Linked DNA regions of Homo sapiens: regions 1, 2, 3, 4, 6 and 7 are each linked to region 5. Evidence: promoter capture Hi-C in 16 types of primary human blood cells and fetal thymus (Javierre and others, 2016). All regions are on one chromosome and are shown on one strand. The core of a region is centred on a gene start or on the middle of the fragment in contact, and the rest is flanking DNA. Distances in the headings are between cores, read along the strand shown. Region 1 has its middle 6.0 kb from the start of CFAP299. Region 2 overlaps FGF5 (fibroblast growth factor 5). Region 3 has its middle 26 kb from the start of PRDM8-AS1. Region 4 overlaps CFAP299 (cilia and flagella associated protein 299). Region 5 holds the start of PAQR3 (progestin and adipoQ receptor family member 3). Region 6 has its middle 13 kb from the start of PRDM8. Region 7 holds the start of LOC124900725 (a long non-coding RNA gene).

The links. Contacts are between HindIII fragments. The CHiCAGO score rates a contact against its expected background, and 5 or more counts as called.
Region 1: a contact is called between a fragment that was not itself captured here and the fragment with the promoter of PAQR3 in region 5, in 2 of 17 cell types (fetal thymus and M0 macrophages). The highest score is 6.5, in fetal thymus.
Region 2: a fragment that was not itself captured here is called in contact with the fragment with the promoter of PAQR3 in region 5 in 1 of 17 cell types (monocytes); the score reaches 6.0 in monocytes.
Region 3: a contact is called between a fragment that was not itself captured here and the fragment with the promoter of PAQR3 in region 5, in 7 of 17 cell types (naive CD8 T cells, M2 macrophages, fetal thymus and 4 more). The highest score is 9.8, in naive CD8 T cells.
Region 4: a fragment that was not itself captured here is called in contact with the fragment with the promoter of PAQR3 in region 5 in 2 of 17 cell types (M2 macrophages and fetal thymus); the score reaches 5.6 in M2 macrophages.
Region 6: a fragment that was not itself captured here is called in contact with the fragment with the promoter of PAQR3 in region 5 in 16 of 17 cell types (fetal thymus, total CD4 T cells, total CD8 T cells and 13 more); the score reaches 16.5 in fetal thymus.
Region 7: a contact is called between a fragment that was not itself captured here and the fragment with the promoter of PAQR3 in region 5, in 13 of 17 cell types (M0 macrophages, M2 macrophages, total CD8 T cells and 10 more). The highest score is 9.1, in M0 macrophages.

What each region holds. Positions count from the first base shown.
Region 1 is chr4:80,328,303-80,331,243 of GRCh38, forward strand. It overlaps a transcript of CFAP299 not described here. Among named protein-coding and RNA genes, the nearest start is that of CFAP299, 6.0 kb to the right of the region's middle. The HindIII fragment of the contact is 1,200 bases long and covers 670-1,869 here.
Region 2 is chr4:80,268,230-80,271,306 of GRCh38, forward strand. All of the region lies in intron 1 of FGF5 (fibroblast growth factor 5), which reads left to right. Among named protein-coding and RNA genes, the nearest start is that of FGF5, 3.1 kb to the left of the region's middle. RefSeq lists an enhancer at 404-974. The HindIII fragment of the contact is 639 bases long and covers 1,380-2,018 here.
Region 3 is chr4:80,170,089-80,173,144 of GRCh38, forward strand. No RefSeq gene overlaps it. Among named protein-coding and RNA genes, the nearest start is that of PRDM8-AS1, 26 kb to the right of the region's middle. The HindIII fragment of the contact is 619 bases long and covers 1,348-1,966 here.
Region 4 is chr4:80,349,346-80,352,452 of GRCh38, forward strand. The region is part of intron 1 of CFAP299 (cilia and flagella associated protein 299); the gene reads left to right. Among named protein-coding and RNA genes, the nearest start is that of CFAP299, 15 kb to the left of the region's middle. The HindIII fragment of the contact is 3,813 bases long and covers 1-3,107 here.
Region 5 is chr4:78,938,023-78,941,221 of GRCh38, forward strand. It overlaps PAQR3 (progestin and adipoQ receptor family member 3), which reads right to left and starts at 1,416. Exons shown (of 6, transcript NM_001040202.2): 1 at 1,018-1,416. The coding sequence starts at 1,202. RefSeq lists silencers at 946-1,015, 1,106-1,595. The HindIII fragment of the contact is 16,646 bases long and covers 1-3,199 here.
Region 6 is chr4:80,208,554-80,211,894 of GRCh38, forward strand. No RefSeq gene overlaps it. Among named protein-coding and RNA genes, the nearest start is that of PRDM8, 13 kb to the left of the region's middle. The HindIII fragment of the contact is 355 bases long and covers 1,223-1,577 here.
Region 7 is chr4:80,231,168-80,234,052 of GRCh38, forward strand. It overlaps LOC124900725 (a long non-coding RNA gene), which reads left to right and starts at 1,040. Exons shown (of 2, transcript XR_007058161.1): 1 at 1,040-1,119. The HindIII fragment of the contact is 546 bases long and covers 1,123-1,668 here.

The sequences.
Region 1 (2,941 bases), core at 20-2,519, 1.4 Mb after region 5:
GGGTGACCCAGAGTGGGAGAAATGGACAAAGCTAGGGAGAATGTGACTAACAGCAGGATGAAATCCTTGAGAAGGTGAGAGAGGATGATATCCAGAGAATTGGAGGACATAGGTTGCATATGATAGGAATATTATATTCATCATAACAAAGGACAAGATTAATACCTAAGAACAAGTGTAGATAGGGTTGTATTGTGTGGGTAGGTAGGGGTGGGGGTGGAGTGATGCTGAAGGGAATGAGGAGTAAGAGAGAAGGAAGATGACAATTTTGAATAGGAAAAAAGGTGTAAAATAGACTTAAAAAAAAGAAAACAAACCACTAAGACAGTATGTTGGTATTGCCAAGTATGTTGAGACTCGTGGTCATGAATTAGTTTAGTAAAATCCTGTGCTTTGTTCCAGAAAACTGCACGATATGACAAAATTCCACTGTTTTCCTCTCTTCTGAGTGATTTCCTGTAGGCTAAATCTGAACAGTTATTGAAAGTTTAAGTTAGAATATTATCACAGAATTTTGAAGCTAGATGTGCCCTCAGAGCCCATCCAGTCCTAACTCATTGTTTTCCAGAATAAAAAATTATTTCCTATTGATTTCTTAAAACACATCATTCTTGCATTCTATGGTATAGAATCAACTTTTTTCTCATATATTTTCCACTCTGTACACCAAGCTTGTCAAACCCGCAGCCCGTGTGCCATGTGCAGCCCAGGACGGCTTTAAATGCAGTCCAATATACATTCATAGGCTTTCTTAAAACAATATAAGATTTCTTTTTTTGCGATTTTTCTTTAGCTCATCAGCCATTGTTAGTGTTAGTGTATTTTATGTGTGGCCCAAGATAATTCTTCTTCCAATGTGGCCCAGGGAAGCCAAAAGATTGGATACCCCAGCAGTACACTGTATACATATATATATATATATATATATGTTATCATTGCTCCTGTAAATTTTTATTTTTCTCACTTATTTACACATTTATATCTCCAATTTACTTAGTTCATCTTCTTCCTTTCCTTCATTCAGCCAACTACCAGTTCAGGTCCTCCTTCTGTCTTCCCTAAATGATAATATCCTTGAAGATTTAAAGAATCAGGTGTTATTTTTTGGTTGCACTCTCAAAGCCTAGCACAGTTCCTGACTCTTTGGTGACTTTACCTTACTGAGGTAATTTACATTACTGATTACTGAGGTAAATAAGTTTTACTTTTGTTTCAATAAGTGAGATTGAGTAGGAAAGATGGATCAAAACATTTTTATTGTGATTAATGAATCTGTAGCCAAAGAATATTTGATATCCTAGAGAAGTAGAGCTGAGCATGAGTTGAATTAGCTCTTAATGGAATTGGCACCACTTCCTTTAATGCTTCTCTTAGAAAGTCTAGTGATTTTTTTTCCCTTTCTATATCTGCTTAGTTGTGACTGGAGTTGTATTATTACCATGGCTGCAGAAATCTTGAGTACCTGACGAGCTTTGATATTGTACTCAGAAGCTAGAAAGAAGATGTTAGTTTAAAATAGATCAAGCTCTTAGGAATTCTATAGAGATTATCATGTAATTTAGAAGAGCTAAATATATTTCTCAGAGAGGCAGCCTATTTCCACCTCATCTCTGGGGTTTTAACGATGTCTCCTTTTATTTTCTTCTAAGGTTTTATCTGAATTTCTTTTTTACCCTCAAGTCAGTGCCTCATTATTTGAGTTTATTATGTACCAGGAAGGTTTCATTAAAAACCAACCATGCCATTGTATTTCTTATTTTGAGCAGGTAAAAGTTTGATCTAAAATGAAAATCTTCTGACTTTTGCTTCAGGGTAAAAAGTGTGCAATAAACTTGAAATCAGTCTCTGGCTATAAAATTCTTTCCCCAAAGCTTTCTTAAGTACATCTCCCCTGCAGCTACTCCTAATTTCAACCTCCCCTTTTCTTCTGTCTCCTGACCTAAGATGTCTTCCTACCTCCCCTCCAGTCATTTACTGCTGTCAGAATAATCTTTAAAACTATAGTTCTGATGATCACGTCTTTGCAAACACTTCTTTTGGCTTTCTTTTGCTTGGAGAGTATGATTAAAGCTTCTTAAATAGACAGACCACAGCGTGGTCTACTTTTAACTTGCCCTTCCATTTTTCTGCCCTCTTGCATATGTCCTGCACTTTAAATAAATTTCTCTTATCACCCTTCCCTGAACATACCTCTCGTTTTCTCACCTTGAAACTTTAGCACATGAGACTCAGTCACATGGACATTTATTCAGAGTCCCAGCTCCCCATCTCAGTACTTCATATTCAGCACAAAGGCCATGTCATCACATTTTCATGACAACTTCCAGTTGGAAGTAATTTTTCACTCATCTGAATTTGCATAGTGCTTCAAAATATCTCTTTATCAAAAAGAATTCTGACTTGTGCTGTTATTACATTGGTATTGCTAAGTGCCTTTCTAAAATGTAGGTGCTAAAATTTAGGTTGTTTTTCTTGATAGTCCTCATACGGATTGTAATGCCTTTCACCTTGTTTCCAAAATGAATCACTGAAATATATAGAAAAAGCATTTTATTCAGCAAATACTTTTGAGGGATCATTATGTTCCAGGTACTACGTTAGATGCTGAGGATATAGTGGTGAAGAGGGTTGACATAGTCTTTGCCTTTATGTTCATAGATTCTAATAAGCAGTATAGACATTTGTCAAATACTTTATAATAATCAAGATATTGCAACAAATGATAAGTGCATTAGAAAGTGCTCTGGGAACACAGGAGACTACTATATCTTGATCTCTATACCGAGATCTATAATAGGGAGCTAATAGGTAAATGGAAAAAGTGTGTACTGTGAAAGAATGTCCTAGGCAGAGGGAACAGCATGTTTGAGACCCAGCAGCAAAAGAAGTGGAGGCTCCTTTCAAAACTGAAAAAAGTCTGGTGTGGCTGGAACATGTAACG
Region 2 (3,077 bases), core at 449-2,948, 1.3 Mb after region 5:
TGAGTAGGAGTGGGGAGATCTCTGTGGGGCTTTTGCTCAGTAGGGCCAGATCGCTCTTCCAGCGCGGGTTGGTCCACCAGGCAGAGCCCCAGCCAGGGCCTGTCAGGTACCCAGGGAGACCGGAAATGTAGCCAGGAGACAGCAGCGCTCACAGTCACCTGGTTTCAGTGTCAGCCTGGTTGCTCCTAGATGTTCCTAACTTGCTCCATCTCAGACCAAAGACTCCACGGGCCATTGGGCTCCTTCTTACACAGGCTCCAGAGGAGCGTGGACACCACCGGCGGTCTGAAGATTTGGCAGCCAGCAGTCTCCAGAGGGGGGTCGGAGGCGCGCAAGTGGGTAAGGCGGTAGGCTGGCTAGCCTCCTCCGGTGGGTTAAGGGGGCCTAATGCGGAAGACCTGATGGTTCATGCTGAGAGAAAAGCAGGTCTATGCCCGCCCCTCTGCGCCTGTCTAGTCTATCTGATCGCGCTGATTCAGCAGCCTGCGGCGCACGTGGTGAGGGCGCCTGGAGCGCCCAGCTGGAGAGAGGGCCCTCCGCACACGCACCAGCGAGTCCCAGGGCCTCCCTCACACTCCCGAGAGGAATCTATTTCCATATTTTAGAGTTTATTTCACTCATCGAATAACTGCTCATTTGGGGGATAAAGGGCAAGATCTGTTGGGGTGAAATGGAATTTTCTGAGATTTGAGGAATAATCAGTAACATCTATTTATTTCCATTCGTCCTTCTCATTTTGTCTCAACGGTCTTTTGACTCCATCAGCCATCACAGCTTATTCCCACTTCCGGCAACCTTTCCTTCTCTCTTACAAGAAAACTTTCTTTCTTCTGTTCTTCTTGTAACGACCCGTGGAGTCATTGGTCTGAGATGGAGCAAGTTAGGAACATCTAGGAGCAACCAGGCTGACACTGAAAGACAGGTGACTGTGCGCGCTGCTGTCTCCTGGCTATGTTTCCACTCTCCCTGGGTACATGACAGAGCACCAACAGAGGATAACTTCCGTGAGCTCAAGGGCGGACCCCAAACTAGCAGGCAGCAAGCAGCAGGTTGGAGCCCAGGGAGCTCAGAGAATGCTTCTGGGGAGGGTTTAGGTGTGCTAGAGATCTCAGAAAGCAAGGCTCATTCCCAGGATATTCACCATCTTCTCTACGAAGACACTATATGAGACGAAGGTAGTTTTACAGCTTAGGCCTTGCTAGAGGGGGTGTTGTAGAAAAGCAAAGGGGGGAAAATAAGAGCAGATCAAAAAGAGTGCACCCAGATAAACAAGACATTGACCACTACCCAGTATGTAACATGTACATTTTCTTTTAAAATCCATGTTGAAAGATATCTACAAGAGAACAGGGATGTTTCCTAAAACAGTGCCGACAAAAAGCTTAATTTAAACTTTTTCCTAATTTATTCTTGTTTACAATAACCTTTCAGAGTTTAGTTTCTGTGTCTTTCACATGACTTGCTTTCATTCATGCCATAAATCATGTACCCAATATAAGATACCTATCTCACTAAGCATGATATTTTGGTTACTTTTGTGTTGTTTGTCTTCCATAGAGTTTTTTTTTTTTTCCCCAGAAGAAAGCATAGCAAATATTCAAATCATAGTAATTTTCTGCTTTGTGATATCTGGAGTGTCTAATACTACTTCATAAAATTTTTACTACCTTTGATCAATGCAGAATTTGCATGTAATTTGGGAATTTAACATGGATCTCTGCCATTACCTAGCTGTAAAAGAGAAACAGAAACTTGCTAATTACAATTGGTCATTTACCTCTTTGAAGGCAGTAGTTGATGTTTCCTGACATTCGTGTAAACTAAGGTGTTGGCCATGGCCTTTCTTAGAGTATGTGAGGAAATGTGTTTAAATCTCCTAAGAGAGGCTGAGAGGGCTGGATCAAGGGCCACAGAGGATACCTCAGTTTGATCTCATCTTCTATTTCTACTGTATGTGAGTTAGTGATGATAGAAAACCTATTCTTTTTGTTACAACCCTGATACTTCAGAAAAGTCAAAGCTTTGCCATGAAACTGCATTCTAACAAGTTATTTTAAACCTAATAATATTCTGTAGTATTTGTCTGATAGAACAGATAATCATATGTGTTTCGCAAACTATTATTTGACAGTAAACTTTTTTTTTTTTTTTGCAAATTGCAAATGTTTTCTGGTTTCACCATGAGAAGTGCACCATGGCCATGGACTTTCAAACATAATTTGTTTAGTTTACATGGACCAATTAATATACTCTTAGCTTCTCTTACACAATAATTATCCCAAGTTTTGAACACAGAAAATGAAATCAAGCTCATTGTATATAAATCCTTATTATGAGGAAATACTGTGGAAAAATGAAGAAATATGAACAAGGCAAGATAGATGACCCAACTATTGCATGGAAACAAATGGTTTGGTTTAATTTATACGCCTTCAAGTTTAATGTCAATACAGTGCTTCTGTTGACTTACCTTGGGCCATTGAAGAATAGGCAATCAAGTAGTTGTCAGTTTAGGGAAGAAAAGTTTAAGGCTTTGTCAAAGCGTTTACATAAAATATGAAAATTCCAAGCACATATTTTGGTTAATAGAATCGTCGATGTTACTGCTTTTTAAAAAAATCTAAATTCACTACCAATTTTGGGGTCATGTGGAGTCATTAGACAGTCCCCCAAGCCTAGATAAATCAGAATCTATATCTACTATGCAGAAAAATCAAGTGGAAAATTTCTGTTGCTAATTTAATCAGTGAAGACTGCTAAACTGAATATTTCAAGATTCAGATTTCATAACTTGGCACAGCATATCTGTTACTTTGTGGATGCAAGTAGAGAAACTTCAGTTTTAAAATATTTTTGTCTGGGGATTTTCAGATGCGTTGTTGAAAGCTTCTGAATACATGGAATATCTGTGCTTTTCTATATTTTATTCATTAACAAAAGAGAGAAAAAGGAAAAATGTGTATAGTTGTATCAACCACTATCAGTAGAGCCCTATTATATTAAGAAATCTGCAGAGGACTAAGTCAAAAATCTAGAAATATGTTTTTTTTTACGGAAGTAAGCTTACATCATAATGC
Region 3 (3,056 bases), core at 407-2,906, 1.2 Mb after region 5:
AAGTGATCTGCCCACCTCAGCCTCCAAAGTGCTGGAATTACAGGCATGAGCCACTGCACCTGGTCTTTGATATTTTTAAATCCTTTTATTTTCAATCTATTTATGTCTTTGAATATAAAGTTTATCCTGAAGACAACATATAGTTAAAGCATGTTTTTAAATCAAGTCTGATAATCTCTGCTTTTTGATTTAATTGTTTAATTTACCCTGATAAGAAGTTTCTGTTGCATGTATTTCATCCAGTATACAATTTATACTTTTCCATTCTTTTGCATGCTCATAATTTGTTGTTAGAAACTGGACATTTTAGATAATATATCTTAGTAACTCTGGAAACTGGTACCCCGCCCCCCTCTAGGATTGCGATTATTATTTTCTTGTTTATTTGTTTAGTGAGTGCTGAGTTATTTTAGTTGAAGTCTATTCCCTGGCTTCCATTCCCTCACTTTTCAACATACACATCATGGTAAGCCTCTGATGCTCTCTGATCAGTGAGGCACAGTTCTGGGTATATCTAACAATTATCCTGGGATAGTAGTGGTACTGGTAAGATTCTCTCCCACCCTTTCGCTGATTACACCTAGCTGTTAAACTCTACTAATTTCTGGCCTATTGCTTAATTGTTTCCAACAGTGCCCTGGAACATAATTTTTTCTTTACAAATAAATCCAATTGGCCGGGCATGGTGGCTCATGCCTGTAATCCCAGCACTTTGGGAGGCCAAGGCGGGAGGATCATCTGAGGTCAGGAGTTTGGGACGAGCCTGGCCAACACGGTGAAACCCCGTCTCTACTAAAAATACAAAAATTAGCTGGGCATGGTGGCAGGTGCCTGTAATCCCAGCTACTCAGGAGGCTGAGGCAGGAGAATCGCTTGAACCCATGAGGCAGAGGTTGCAGTGAGCTGAGATTGTGCCATTGCACTCCAGCCTGGGAGACACAGTGAGACTCTGTCTCAAAAAAAAAAAAAAAAAAAAGATATACAAATAAATCTAATAATATTGTGACACTTTATATGGGAAAGTTTCTGAGATCAGTGTTTGCTATTTGTATTAACTCCAAGAGAGCTCCTGTCAGCTATCTTATTTCCCAGTTCTCTCTTACAAACTAGCTGGCCTACAGTCTAGGCTATATCTTCATTTGGTCCCAAAATTTCCTCTCAATTGCTTTTCACCACAACTTCTACTGTTCTTGAGAGTGCCCTTAAGTTTAAAATTATCTACACTTTGTTTGGAATAAAGTAAGATCCCTTGGGAAGAGATAAAGAGTTGCATGCTTTATGGCCTGATTCTCTCCCTAGGCAAAATTTCTGAGCTAGAGCACGGAGTTGGGGGTGGAAACAATGACAAGCTTCTCTCTGAGTAATACCCTGGCTCTAATTGCTGAATGCTTGGTGGATGGGGTGAGAGAGGAGTTTGCAGGTCTTTCAGCTTGCCACTCATGGTGTGGAAACTTTACTTCAAAGGCCAAGGAAAAGGCTCCCAAGGCTCCAGTATTCCTGTTAACAGCCCAATTGGTTCATCTTACCCACTGCCCAGAAAAGCCAATTCCCTGAAAATAGCAGATACTGCAGCAAAGAAAGAGTTTAAGTATTGAAAGCTCGGAGGCTAAGGATAATTTGGCAGGCAGGGGGTTAGGGACTAGGTCCTGCTGATTGGTTCAGGATGAAATCATAGGTGTATCCAAAATGTTCTTCATGTGCTGAGTCAGTTTCAGGGTAGGGGGTCACAGGATTGGTTAAGTCAGTTCCCTGGTATGAGTCACAGATCCAGGTGGCATCAACTGGTCAGCCAAAGTGCAAAAGTCTGAAAAATACCTCAAAGACCAATATTGGGTTTTGACAATACCGTTGGTATCTATAAGAGCAATTAAAGAACTTACAAATCTTGTCATCTTCGGAACTGTGGCTGGTTATCATTTAACTACATCTACATCTTACCAGAATTCATTCCCCACTCATAATCCTAAGCTTTTGGCCTTTCATTAGTCCTACAAAGGTGGTTTCAGTCCCCAGAGGGGGTCAGTTTTTGGGGGAGACTATTATCCTTTATTTAAAGTTAAACTATAAGCTAAATTCCTTCCACAATTAGCTTCGCCTACACCCAGGAATGAGCAAACACAGTTAGCTTGTTAAGTTAGAAGTATGGCAGTGTCAGCTAGGTTACATTTCTCTCACTGTCATAATTTTTGCAAAGGTAGTTTCATTCTCAATGCACCACACCCAAGGTAGAACTTCCTTTTTACAAGAAAGTGTTGGGTGGGAGAAGGAAGCTTCCTCCTCCCAGTTGTATTCACCTAAGACTTAGCCTTAGCAACAGACAGCTACGGGCAGGACCAAAAAAGCTCAAGTTATGTCCTATTGCAATGAAAGCCCTGCAGCTGACACCTAAGGAATATAAAGAGTCATATTCTTGGCTGCAGCGTCTGGAGTAGAGTCTCTGCCTCACTGAGCTGGGAGGGGCAAGGAAAGTAGTAGTTTCAGTTCAAATGTCACAGACTCACCTCTCTTGACAGATATTCATAATTTCCTCTAATAGGTATTTCTTTATTTACCATTTGCCCTTAGGACCATTTCCAGAGAATTTAAGTGGTTGTTTCTTTACACACAATTTTCACCAGTTTCACTGAGGAGTGGCTCAGCAGAGTTTCCCACACTGCCATTCTAGAAGTCAATCTATTTCACTTGTATTTATTGTTCAGCTATATATGTTACTTACAAGACTCTTCTTTGCTTTCCACTCCTAATTTTCTGTTTTCCTATAGCTAACTCTGTCTCTCTCCTTTGAAACACTGACTTCCAACTTTATATCAGTCCTCTCAAGTTTTCAAACTCTTAGTTTCTATGAGATTTAGAAATCGGGCTTTTGTTTGTGCTGATGTTTACAGTGAATATTCAAGACTCTGATATTGGCTATAATTTTTTTTTAGAGTTAAAGTCTTCCTTTGTTGCTCAGGCTGGATTGCAGTGGCACAATTTTAACTTACTGTGGCCTTGAACTCCCAGGCTCATGCAATTCTCCCACCTCAGCTTCCTCAGTAGCTGGGACTACAGGAACG
Region 4 (3,107 bases), core at 504-3,003, 1.4 Mb after region 5:
ATTTGATGCAATACAAATTCACTACATATGCCATGTTTTAATATTTCACATGGAGAATATATTTATGTCTGACTTGTATAAATAAAAATTAGCACAAATAAAGGATGAGAGTTTCTCAAATGTTACAGGACATGCATAGCCCTGACATCAATTTTTAAAAAGCAAAACAAAGTAGAAAGCTGAAGACTAATTTTACTTATGAACTGGATGAAAGAAATTTAAAATGAATCCAAGAATATATTAAGAAATAATAATGTCAGAGTGAAAATAGTATGATTTGTTATAGGACTGCAACGAGGAACTCATGATATTAAATGTAAAAAGAAAAAAAGATTATTTCTATAGATGAAGAAAAAGCATAGATAAAATTCTAAAGCCATTCTTACTATAACTTGATAAGGAGTATTTTCAAACACTTATAGGAAACGTCATACTCAGTGTTTAAACACTTGAATGGTTAGCATTAGAATTAGAAACATGATAAAAATGGTTGCTACTACTAGTAATGTTTTATTGGCAGTCTAGCAGTGCAGTGCTGCAATTTAAGGAAAGTGTCATAAATATTTGAAAAGAGTCAGAATATAATTACATATAGGCAATATGATTATCTACAATGAACATACAAGAAAAAATGCTGAAATCCTATTTTAACAAATAAGTGAGTTTAGAAAGGAAGTTGAAAATTGAGTGAAAACAACTCTGTTCACCAGCAATGAATAAGATAATAACAAAAGACATAAACAAAAATGAACACAGCCTCAGTAACCTGTGGGGCAATGTCAAACAGTCTAACATACATTTAAATGGAGTCCAAAATGAACAAAGGGAAGGAAGGAATAAAATATATTTTAAACGGTAATAGCTAAACATTTTCCAAATTTTATGAAAAGTACAAACCCACAGAGCCAAGAAGTTCAATGAATTCCAAGCAGAATAAATGCAAAGAAAACTACACGAAGGAATGTTTTAATAAAATCACTGAAAACTAGTGATAAAGAGAAAATCTTAAAAACAAAAGTAAAAGAACACATTATAAAGTAAACCAAAAACAGGAATGACTGAATATTACCCAGCAATCCCATTACTGGGTATATACCCAAAGGATTATAAATCATTCTACTATAAAGACACATGCACATATATGTTTATTGCAGTACTATTTACAATAGCAAAGACTTGGAACAAACCCAAATGCCACCAATGATATACTGGATAAAGAAAACGTAGCACATATACACCATGGAATACTATGCAGCCATACAAAACAATGAGTTCATGTCCTTTGCAGGGACATGGATGAAGCTGGAAGCTGTCATCCTCGGCAAACTAACACAGGAACAGAAAACCAAACACCACATGTTCTCACTAATAAGTGGGAGCTGAACAATGAGAACGCACGGACACACAGAGGGGAATATTACACACCCGGGCCTGTTGGGGGTGGAGGGAAAGGGGAGGGAGAGCATTAGGACAAATGGCTAATGCTTGCGGGGCTGAAAACCTAGATGATGGATTGATAGGTGCAGCAAACCACCATGGCACATGTATACCTATGTAACAAAGCTGCACTTTCTGCACATGTATCCCAGAACTTAAAGTAAAAAATAAGTAAATAAAAAAAAAGAAACAATGCAAGCCATAGAAAAATGAACGGCATCTTTAAAGTGCTGAAAGATTTGAAAAAAGTCAACCTAGAACACTGTATCAGAAGAAAAGAGTAAGGTGAGATAATTTATTTTCCAGCCAGGATAATTTGTTGTTAGCAGATATATATTACTAGAAATGTTTAATGAAGTTCTTCAGGTTGAAGGAAAATTATATATAAGCAGGAAACTTGGATCAAAATGAAAATGAATGAAAAGCACCAGAAATGCTAAATATGTGAATACAAATTTTTTCTCAGTTTTATATTTAAAGATTATTGATTATTTAAAGAAAAATAATGACATTGCATTTTGTGGTTTATAACATGCACAGAAATACAGTATGAAACAACAATAGCACAAAAGATAGCAGAGGATAATGTTGCAATGGGTTCTTATACTTGAGATGGTGTAATATTATTTGAAAGTAGAATGTAATAAGCTAATAATTCTTGTAAATCACAGAGTACCTGCTGAAAAATAAAGTAGACATATAACTAAAAATGTAATAGTGGAGATAAAATGGAAATAAGAAACAAAAAATAGAAAGCAAAAATAATCAAATATCAAAGCAAATGGGACTAATAAGAAAGAAATAACAAGGTAGTATATTAAAACCCAACCATACTGAAAATTACATTAAATGTAAATGATCTAAACATTTCAATTTAAAAGCAGAGATGGTCAGAATAGATAAAAGTTCAAGAGCCATATATGCTGTCCCACCTTAAATATAAATACAACAATTTAATGTAAATGTATTAACATTAACAGATTAATAATAAAACATTAAGATTAATATTAATGTTATAGTTATAGTAATATATTAATAACATTAAATTAACAATCTATTAATGTTAATACATTAAATTGTTTTATAATTAATGATTTATTAATAATTATGATTTATAAATAATGTTAATATAATGTTAATTTTATATTAACATTAATAGATAATTTTAAATAGATTAAAAGGATGGGAAATATGTATTATACAAGCATAAAGAAAAGGAGATTTATAATGTCTATATTAATATCAGGCAAAGTAGACCTCAGAACTAGAAGTATTTCAGGGAAAAAGAAGGACTTTTTAATATAGATAAATGAGTCAATCAATACATTAGCTTACATGCCTCATGCCAGATCCTCAAAATGCGTTATGCAAAATTGATAAGAATTGAAAGAGTAGACAAATTCACAATTGTTTCTAGAGACATAAACATTCTGTTTTCAGTAATTGATAGAACCAGAAGTTAGAATAAATGTAAGTATGTAAAAGATTTAAAGAGCAGTCAAAGGCCAGGTGCAGTGACTCACACCTGTAATCCCAGCACTTTGGGAGGCTGATGTGGGTGAATTACTTGATATCAGGAGTTCGAGACCAGCCTGGCCCACATGGTGAAACCCCGTCTCTACTAAAATACAGAAATTATGCGGGGACAGTGGTGCACACCTGTAATCCCA
Region 5 (3,199 bases), core at 166-2,665:
GTGATGTCACCTTGTGACCATGAGTCACAGAAACACTTTCATGGCAGGACAAAAGGAAAGAAGGGCAGGAAAAGACAATGCTGGAAAAATCAAGAATCAGACATGTGGTTGCCGCTTGAGCAATTCAACAGCCCACATTCTGGCACTAGGGTTTGCCACTACAGCGACCTGGAGCTAACCAACACCTGTATCTTAATTCTCCTGAAGCAGAGGTCCTGTATTTTAGTACAGGTAGTAAGTTTGGACAGTTACTCCAAGAACTAGAATAGTTATTTTTCAGTTTTGTTTTTTTAAAACACGGATTTTCAAGGGACTGTGGTTTTAAAGGTTTAAAATGATAAAGAAATTTCTTTCTTAGAGATGCTTCTGTGGTGCTCTAGTGGAGACTGGGTGCCCGTTATGAGCTCTCTTTACCACAGTACTTTTCCTACACAGCATTTTTTCCACAATGGTTATTATGTAATTGTGTAATTATCTATTTAATGTCTGTTACCCAGGCTACACCTTAGTAGCTTCATGAAAACAAGGGCCATGTTTGCTTTTTTTTCTGCATGGGCTCCATAAGTATTTGCCAAATGAATAAATCTCGGGTGTATATGTTAACTTGTTTCCTATTATACAGGCACTTATCTGGCCCAAAGCTACTGAATTCCCACAGTGTTGCTCTAAAAAGAAAGGTATACACCGGGCAAATATGGCTCAGCCCCATTTCAATATATATCTCAATGAGCCGAACAAACCGAATAAAGGATGTAAAAGCCCTTTGTAAAGAGCAAAGCGTCATAGGAGAGCTGTAATTATGATCACTGTTACTATCATGATTATTCCGTGGACCAAGTACCCCGGCCAGGTAAGGGGAGATAACGGGGGAGGAGAGGCGGCAAAAAGGGATGAAAAGGATGGGGCGGCGAGGAAATGATGGGCAAGCAGAAAGGCGGGGAAAGCAGAAGGGGGACCAGACAAAAAGGGTGTAGGTGAGAGAAGGGGGCACTCCAGGCGGAGGCAGCCAGACCGTACCTTTTGATACACAGCCTGGACGGCAGGTAGGCCCGGTAGCCGTCGGTGATGTACGGGTTGTCCTTGAGGGACCCGGGGATCTGCTCGTAGGTGTACAGGCGGATGCCACGGGGCACCAGGACCGGCCAGTACTGGTAGCTGCCCAGCTCGATGTAATGCGCGCTCTTCAGCAGCTTCTGATGCATCGTTCCCGGCCGCCGCCGCTCCCCGGCTCGGGAGCTCCCCCAGGTCCCGCCTCCCCGGGGAGGGGGCTTCGCCGCTGGCGCCCCCGCCCCGGAGCCCGCGGACGCTGCGCGAGGTCCTACCGCGCTGCCGCTGCTGCCCAGGGCCCGGCTCTGCGCTCACACCGGCCACTGCCGCCAGCGCCGCGGCGGACCCGGCAGCGTCGCAGCCTCCTCTGACGTCAGCGCGCCGCGGCGGCCCCGCCCCTCAGCCCTAGCTGGGAGGGGCAGGGTGCTGGGGCGCGCCCGGGTGTGCTCGAGCGTGCGCTGGCGGCGGCCCGGGCTCCCGGGCGTCTCTCACGCTGTGTTTTGGCGGCGCCTGGGGTCTTCGTTTGCATATGAGAAGAGCCGAAAGCACAGAGCTACAGGCGAATACAAGTGGATTTTTTTTCTTTTTCTGTTTTTTTATTAGAAGTAATAGTTGCTGCATTTTGAAAAATCAAGAGGAAAAGAGTTAACAGGAAGAAAAGTTCGAGGTAATTACCGTTTAGTTTATGCTTGGAATTACACACACTTAGTGTCAGAAGGGACTTTGAGGATTTCTAAGCTGAAGTCAGCTCTTAGCACGATAATTGGAAAGAGAGGAAACCTGATGCACGTGGAACATACACCAGCATCGAGCACATCCTGAGCCATAAAGGAAAGCCCCCGTGCATTCAAAACTCCGACCCCTTTCAGCGTTATGTTCTCTGATCACAGTAGAATTAAACTAGAGTAACAAGAAAACTAAAAGTCTCCACGTCTGGAATAGGAGCAATACACCAAATATTTCAAGGGCTGATGAAGAAATCACAATGGAAATGAGAATATCTACTTAACTGAATAATATAGAACATATTAAAAAATCCTGTGGAGTGCGGCTATAGTAGCGTTTACAGGAAGTGTTGCAGCTTTGTTTCTGGCTATTTACTGTAATGCAAGTGTTTACTTATAATGGCAACAGGGCAAAACATCAGTTTGAGTACCGTATGTGTATAATAGAACGCTTAGTCCATTGTTTGGCATTGTAAGGGCAAGAAAAATATCTTGTCCTCACTTATCACAAGGTTCACAGCTGACATTCCTATGAAAAAAATTAAGAGAAGCCAGGCGCAGGTGGCTCATGCCTGTAATCCCAACATTTTGGAAGGCCGAGGCAGGCGGATTGCTTATGCCCAGGAGTTGGAGACCAGCCTGGGTAACATAGTGAGACGCTGTCGCTACAAAAAAAACCAACCAAACAAACAAAAAACAAAAATTAGTCGGGTGTGGTGATGGGCGCCTGTAGTCCCAAACTATTCTGGGCTGAAGTGAGAGGGTTGCTTGAGCCTGGGAGGTCGAGGCTGCAGTGAGCCATGTTTGTGCCACTGCACTCCAGTCTGGGTGACAAAGCGAGACTTTGTCTCAAAAAATAAATAATAAAAATTAACAAGAAAAGGGATAATAAATTCATTTAACACAGTTTTATGTGACAGAGGAGTCTTCAGAAATGAAGACACAAAGACCCAGGAAAAAATGGGCTTTTTATGCTAAGTCTGATGAAAGGAGTGGATAGTTGTGGAGAAACATGATTGAAAGGGGGCATCATCTAATGATAATAAACTGAGGGGGGATCCTAGCTAGCAAGGCCAGTTCATTCAAATTCTTGGCCTCAGAGTATGGGGCAGGAACTCTCTAGAATGAGGGTTTTATGACCTAGTTTCAGGTGAGGTAAGTCAGAACTCCTTTGTGACCACGGAAAGGCAGGGACAGTCAGAAAGTAACCTTACTAGATTTTTTGTTGTTGTTGTTGTTGGGGGAAGACAGAGTCTCACTCTGAAGCCCAGGCTGGAGTGCAGTGGCACAATCTCGGGTCACGCAATCTCCACCTCCCGGGTACAAGCAATTCTCCTGCCTCATCCTCCCGAGTAGCTGGGACTACAGGCACCCACCACCATGCCCGGCTAATTTTTGTACTTTTCGTAGAGATGGGGTTTCACCAT
Region 6 (3,341 bases), core at 150-2,649, 1.3 Mb after region 5:
CACACACACACCCCCAGCTGCCTCCTGAACAGTTTCTCCCAGCTTGGAAATTTCATTTTTTTCCTGAAGGTGAAATATGACCTCAAAGGGGTGTAGAAAATTTAGCCTGCCCAAGAGCTAAACTGGGATTGGGGTGAGAAGGTGGGCCTTCTCACTCCCTTTTCCTCCTCCAAATGCATTTTATTTGACAGAAGGCCCAGAACGTTGAGGCAGTAACATATGCCTCAGGCTGGTGGGCCTGAATGATTGCCTTCTAGCTTTGTAAACTGGCTGGGCAGCAGCTGCGGAGCTCTTTGCCTCTGCTTCATGAATCATATTCCTAAGGCAACCTCTGCTTTTCCCACTTTAGATATGGAACTTAGAACGTTTTAGAAACCTGTATTCTCCAGGCCTAGTGAATAAAGAAACTGAAAAAAATTTAATTCTTTTATTTTAATCTTTAGGATTAGAGGTCTGGTACAGGTGTTCTGTTTGAATAGCTAACCTGGTTATGCTCATTATTATTTGCTTATCTCTTTTCAAGTTGTGTGTGAGCATTAGAATATAAATCTATGCATATGTGCAGGCATGTGCATATGTGTTCAAATATGTAAGTATATATTACAAACTGATACACATATTTATATATACAGACATACATAAACATTTTAATCCACACACAGGCACATAACTGGCAGGCGTTATTCTAAGTGCTTTTCATGTGTTTACTTGCTTTAATTCTCACAGCCTACCCAAGGGCTACTGAGAATCCCACTCCATCATGTTTCAGCATTGTGTAGTTAGTACGGTTGTCACTCTGAAACAGAAAGATGAGAATGTGATAATGTAATGAAAAAATAGTGACTCTTATGTCAGGAAACCGGTTCCAAATTTTGTGGCCTTTCCATTTATTTATCTTAGTTTCCTTTACTTGAACATGTGAATAATACCACCTGTGGGCTTATCACATAGCGGTGTCTTGAAAAGCAAATATAATTCTACATGTAGCAGCTTTTTGTACTATTGAATATGATTGACTCCCATGTTGGTAAAAGAGATATGCTTTTAGCCTCAACTTATCTTTCTCAGGTAGTCAAAATGCTCTCATACCTCTATAAGAAATCTTTTGTGACCTTGACTTACTTTAATGATCTTTTCTCATTTTTAACCAGAGGTGGGAGTAATCGCTGGTTTGATTTTGTGGTTGTTTATGTAATTACTCAGGATTTTACTCTGTGCCTCAAGCTTACAGGAGAGTCACTGAAAAAATGTTTGATACATAATATCATGTAAGCCTATAGGTTCATTCATGATATATATATATACACACACACACACACACACACACACTCCACACACACATGCACCCCACATAAAACTATATATATATATATATATATATACACAGTTATGTGTATATAACTATATATATATATTTTAGTTGGCTTAGCTGTAATAATCTTAAATTATAAATACAGCGTGTTCCTAGTGCTTAAAAATTGTAAGTCAGCCTAATGCTAAGGATGGAAAAGGCTATAAGAGGAGTTCTAGATATAATTTGCCATGCTGTAGAAAGTATGGTTACAATGCAGGAGAGAAGCTTATCCCTTTTCCTAGTTACTATGTAACAAATTGCACCTTACTTAGAAAGCTACACTGTGCTCAGTGCTTAATGAAGACAATGTTCCCTCTACAGATCAAAACGGATCCCTCACTCCAGCTCAAGCTTTTTCCTGTTTTTAAATGGATCTTTAAAAATAATGCATGACTTAAAAAATCATAAAGAACTCTAATGCTGCTAAAACATAGAGACTTGAAGAATGCATACAATATCTTGTTTTCCCAAATTATTTAGAGAATAAATTCTTTAAGTAAAAAATAAACAAGGAAGGAAGGGAGGGAGGGAGGGAGGGAGGAAGGAAGGAAGGAAGGAGAAGAGAAGAGGGACGGAGTAAAGAAAAGGAAGGAAGGATGGAAAGAAGGAAGAGAGAAATTGGGAAGAAAAATAATCATGGGATTAATTTATCTAACTTTTTGTCCCTTTACTTCTTTTCCCACAAATGTCCAGCCACCAATTCCAAATTCCTCTCATACTGTTTTTTTTTTTTTTTTGGCATTTTCTTTGGAGAAGAGCCTTACTGTGGGTTTCAGAGTAGAAATCCATAAATCAGTCCCACCGTTGACTAAGATCTCTTGTGCACACCTGCTTCGAGGATTAAAATCTGGACAGGCATACCATGATTGCACTTTTCTCTGAGGATTCATCTCTGGGTGGGTGTGTTGGTGTTATACTATTGCCTGTGCCACTTTTTCTGTGTTTTGTTATTTTTTTGTGAAGTGTGAAACTTTTTTTTTTTTTAAGCAATTGATGACTTTTTTCTCTCTCAAACAAATGAATAAAGTCCTGTTTTACACTCTGGCAAAATTTCACTGGGTCTTTGAGAAAGACAAACAGAGCCAAACAGTGACACCCAGCCCCCAAATGGATGCAAATCATGTAATTAGAAAAATTTTAGTATCCATAGTGTTCAGTTCTTCTTTAGGCTAAGAGGTCCAGCGTCAGGGCTAAGCGAAGGAGGAGGAAAGAAAATAAAGGAAATATTCCTGCAAGGTCCTTCCTAGAAAGATAAGAGTTAGCCTTCAGGAAGGAGTAAATTGACTTTTTCATTAAAATGCTTTTGTAGACAGTGCTAGTTTAACTATTTGCTTTAGCAGGGCTAGGTGGATAAATGGTGAATGCCATGAAGCTTATTTTCAGGGACATTCGATCTGCTCCCTAAATTCCATCTCAGAACCTCCCATTTTCAATCGTCTCTTACCTTTAGGCTCTCTTAGATTTCCCTGAGTTCTATCCCCTCCAACAAAGAGGTAGTATCCAAAATTGCCACCTGTGTGAATAAACAGCAAAAAAAAAAAAAAAAAAAAGTCTGAATTTACATGAAGGTATTTGCTTCTCCATTTGCTTTTTAAAGCTTAATTTCTAATTTTGGAGCAGTCTAAGTAAAGATGAAGGATCGATATGCAGAGGTACTTCTCCACCAGGGTAATAATGCCTAAAACTCCTTCCAAATCAGAGGTATTTGACTTTGAGGCTGCATCTGAAAGTATTTATTAAACCTCCAAACATGCCTAAACTTAAAGCCAGGGAGATATTTAGGAAACCTAACATTCAAAAATCTAATTCCAAGCATAGTAAAGCTAATAGCATGGTAAAACAAGTCTCATCAAGTTATATGATTGCCAGCAGCTCACATTTGAATTTCTTAAATCCTTTAAATATTCAAAATACATTTATTTATAACAACTCAGAAATAGAAACTTGGAATTTTAGATATATATATTTCTCATATATATATTTCAGA
Region 7 (2,885 bases), core at 146-2,645, 1.3 Mb after region 5:
AGGAAGCCTAAAATATTTTTTTATTTCAAAGTTCTAAAAAAGTTAATTTTCATGAAGTATTATAGCAGCAAACTAAGACTGCGTAACTTAGCCATAAATAACTATTGTGTTGCCAGTGTTCACAGCTGTGTTGCTGAGGACACAAGGAATGGATAAGTCAAAGGATAAGTATGTGCGACATCACTCGATCATGGCTAATTTGGCTCACCTGAATATTCTGAATGTCAACCAGACAGGATTGGGTCACAGGATATATAGCTGGGAAGTGAATGAGCAAGCAGAAATAATTATCAGTGTAACACAAGAAGCACCAGACTTAGAAGTTTGTTCCTGACTCCGTTTGAGAATTTAGGCAAGCAGTTCCCTCTGCCTTATTTTCCCACTGGACCATAAATGAAGAAATTATCGATGTTTTTAAAAATTATAGATGTTTTAACTTTTCCAGTTATATTTTGCATTGATTATAGGATTGAAAGGCTAGAGGGAAACCCAATTGACCAGTGTTCTTAGGAAATTAACATAATTGGTTTGGGCTGGTTTACAAAGAACAGATTTTAGAAATATAAATGAAAACATTGCAGGATGAGATAGTTACTTCAATTTTAAAAAAAGTAACAACACGATCAGGCTGTTTTAATATCATTCAATGAAATCAAAATGACTATAGCTATTATTCTAATTAACCCTAAGTTTTAAAACATTTCTGAGGTAACATGAATATGCACTCAAAATGAGTATCGTAAAATACCAAAAAGTATATACAAGTTTTACATTTTCTTTTGACTTTGATTTTTATATATTTTCATTTCAATTGTTATTCAAAACATTTAAAATTATATAATTATATCATCAATAATGCGGTTAATATCCTGTAGTTTTGTGACTCCTAATTTATCACCTAAGAAAGCTAAAACAGAATGAGCATATGAGTTTCCTTCTCCATGTTACTTGTGCACTTAACTTTTGAACTTTTTATTTCTATATTTTCATTCAGTCTCTCTAAAAAACATTTTTTTCTCTATTGTAGTGGAAAGAATATAATCTTTGCTGGAACCTGAACTGAGATTCAAAATCCTGCCACTTTACTAACAATGTGACTTCAGGAAATTTATTTAATCCGTAAGCTTCATTTTTCTTGTTCTCAAAATGACAATTATTACGTATACTTTATGAGCTGGTTGTGAGAAATTAGAAGAATAACATGAACAGTGTCCAGTACTCAGCAGGTGTTTAATACACAGTAGTGCTTTCTATCCTCCATTTACTTCTTCCTTAAACTTTTACTTGAGGATTTTAATTGTAGAACTGGTCCTGTGAAAAAGTGAAACAATTCATCTCCTCCAGCCCCAATTCTTTTCCCTTTCAGATATCAAGAGTCTTTTTCTCTAATAATCTCAAAATCTGTAAAGAGTTCTAAAATCTAGCCATTTTTATGTGCTTAATACAGATTTAGTTTCAGATTCCATTGAGCTTGCAGGGGACTTACAGGTAGATAATTTAGCCCATTTTACAGTGGAGGCAGTGAAGGGCTAGGAAATGTAAATAACTTTCCCAAATACACATGGTGACAGTGCTAGAACTTAATCACTCTTTTAAATATTAAGTCCACTGCTATTTGTATTACATCTCTTTTAGCATTTTGAGCTTCTTGGTAATTGTTGAATGATAAGCTTTGTGTTTTCTTAACAGAATTTGAGGTCCCTGTAAGTGAAAGGGTATTTCGGGTTACAGCTGAGAAATGGTGCAGACTCCTCAGACTGCTCTGGCTACGTAATTTTCAGGGCCCAGTGCAAAATAAAAGTGTGAGATCTCCTTTTCAAAAAAAAAAAAAGGAAAAAAGTACCATTAAAGATATCCAAATATAAGGGTTTTTCTTCTATTTCTGCTTCTCTTTCAACTTATACTGTTTTTCATTAGCATTTAATTTTGTTCTAAGTAGAAAATTTTTTAAATTTAAGATCATTAGAAATTTTACAGCATATCTTCATATTGTGCAATGCCAGTTTTAGATGTAAATATAAGAGCATTTAACCTGTATGCAGAATCACCAAAATTATACAATTCTATTTTGTATTTTGTATGTATTCTGTTGTTACCAGAACAGTAGAAATCTGCACAAAGCTAACATGTTTTTTCTTTCCTTTCTTGAAGGATACACATTCTACCAATACATTCTACTTTTGGCTTACTGATAAGTAAGGAAGGAAAGCAAAAGGAATTGGGGCCTGTCCTATCTTTCCCTTTTCTTCTGATCTTATTTTCAACATAACTGGTTGGCTAATACGAAAAAAGCAGCCCAACACCATTGCCTTCTTTCTGCATTCCAAACAAGTTCTAGTTGAAACTGAAAGGGTGGCATCCCAGGGACCTCAGCAAGTCCCCCCTACATCCCCACCCTACCGTTAGTCAATCTTAGATTTAACAAACTGACCTCATACTACCTTTCTCACTGAACTACTTACTACGCATTGTGAGTCCACTGGAATTCTGTGCTCATGGGGCATCACAAATGCTATATATAAATGTGGCAGCAAGGAATAGTGGTGGATACTCATATTGAGATATCTCCTGTGCACACTCCTCGGCTCCATTGTACCATTAGATTTCATTTCCAAAACATAAGTTATAAATAAATTTATTTAAAATTTCAAGACGGCAATGGAAGAGCTTTAAACCTAACATGAGGTCTTTCTGAGCCTAGGACCCGTGACACTGCACAGACAGCATGCTCATGAACTTGACCCTACTTCAAAGGTTCTTGAAATCAAAGAATCAGGCCAATACTTGGCTTGCCTATGCAGTGAGACAAACCCGTTCTGCTTTGTGTTACTTCTTCTCTTCTTCCCTTATTCTTTCAAGAAGCTTTTATCCAGAAACTCTTCCTT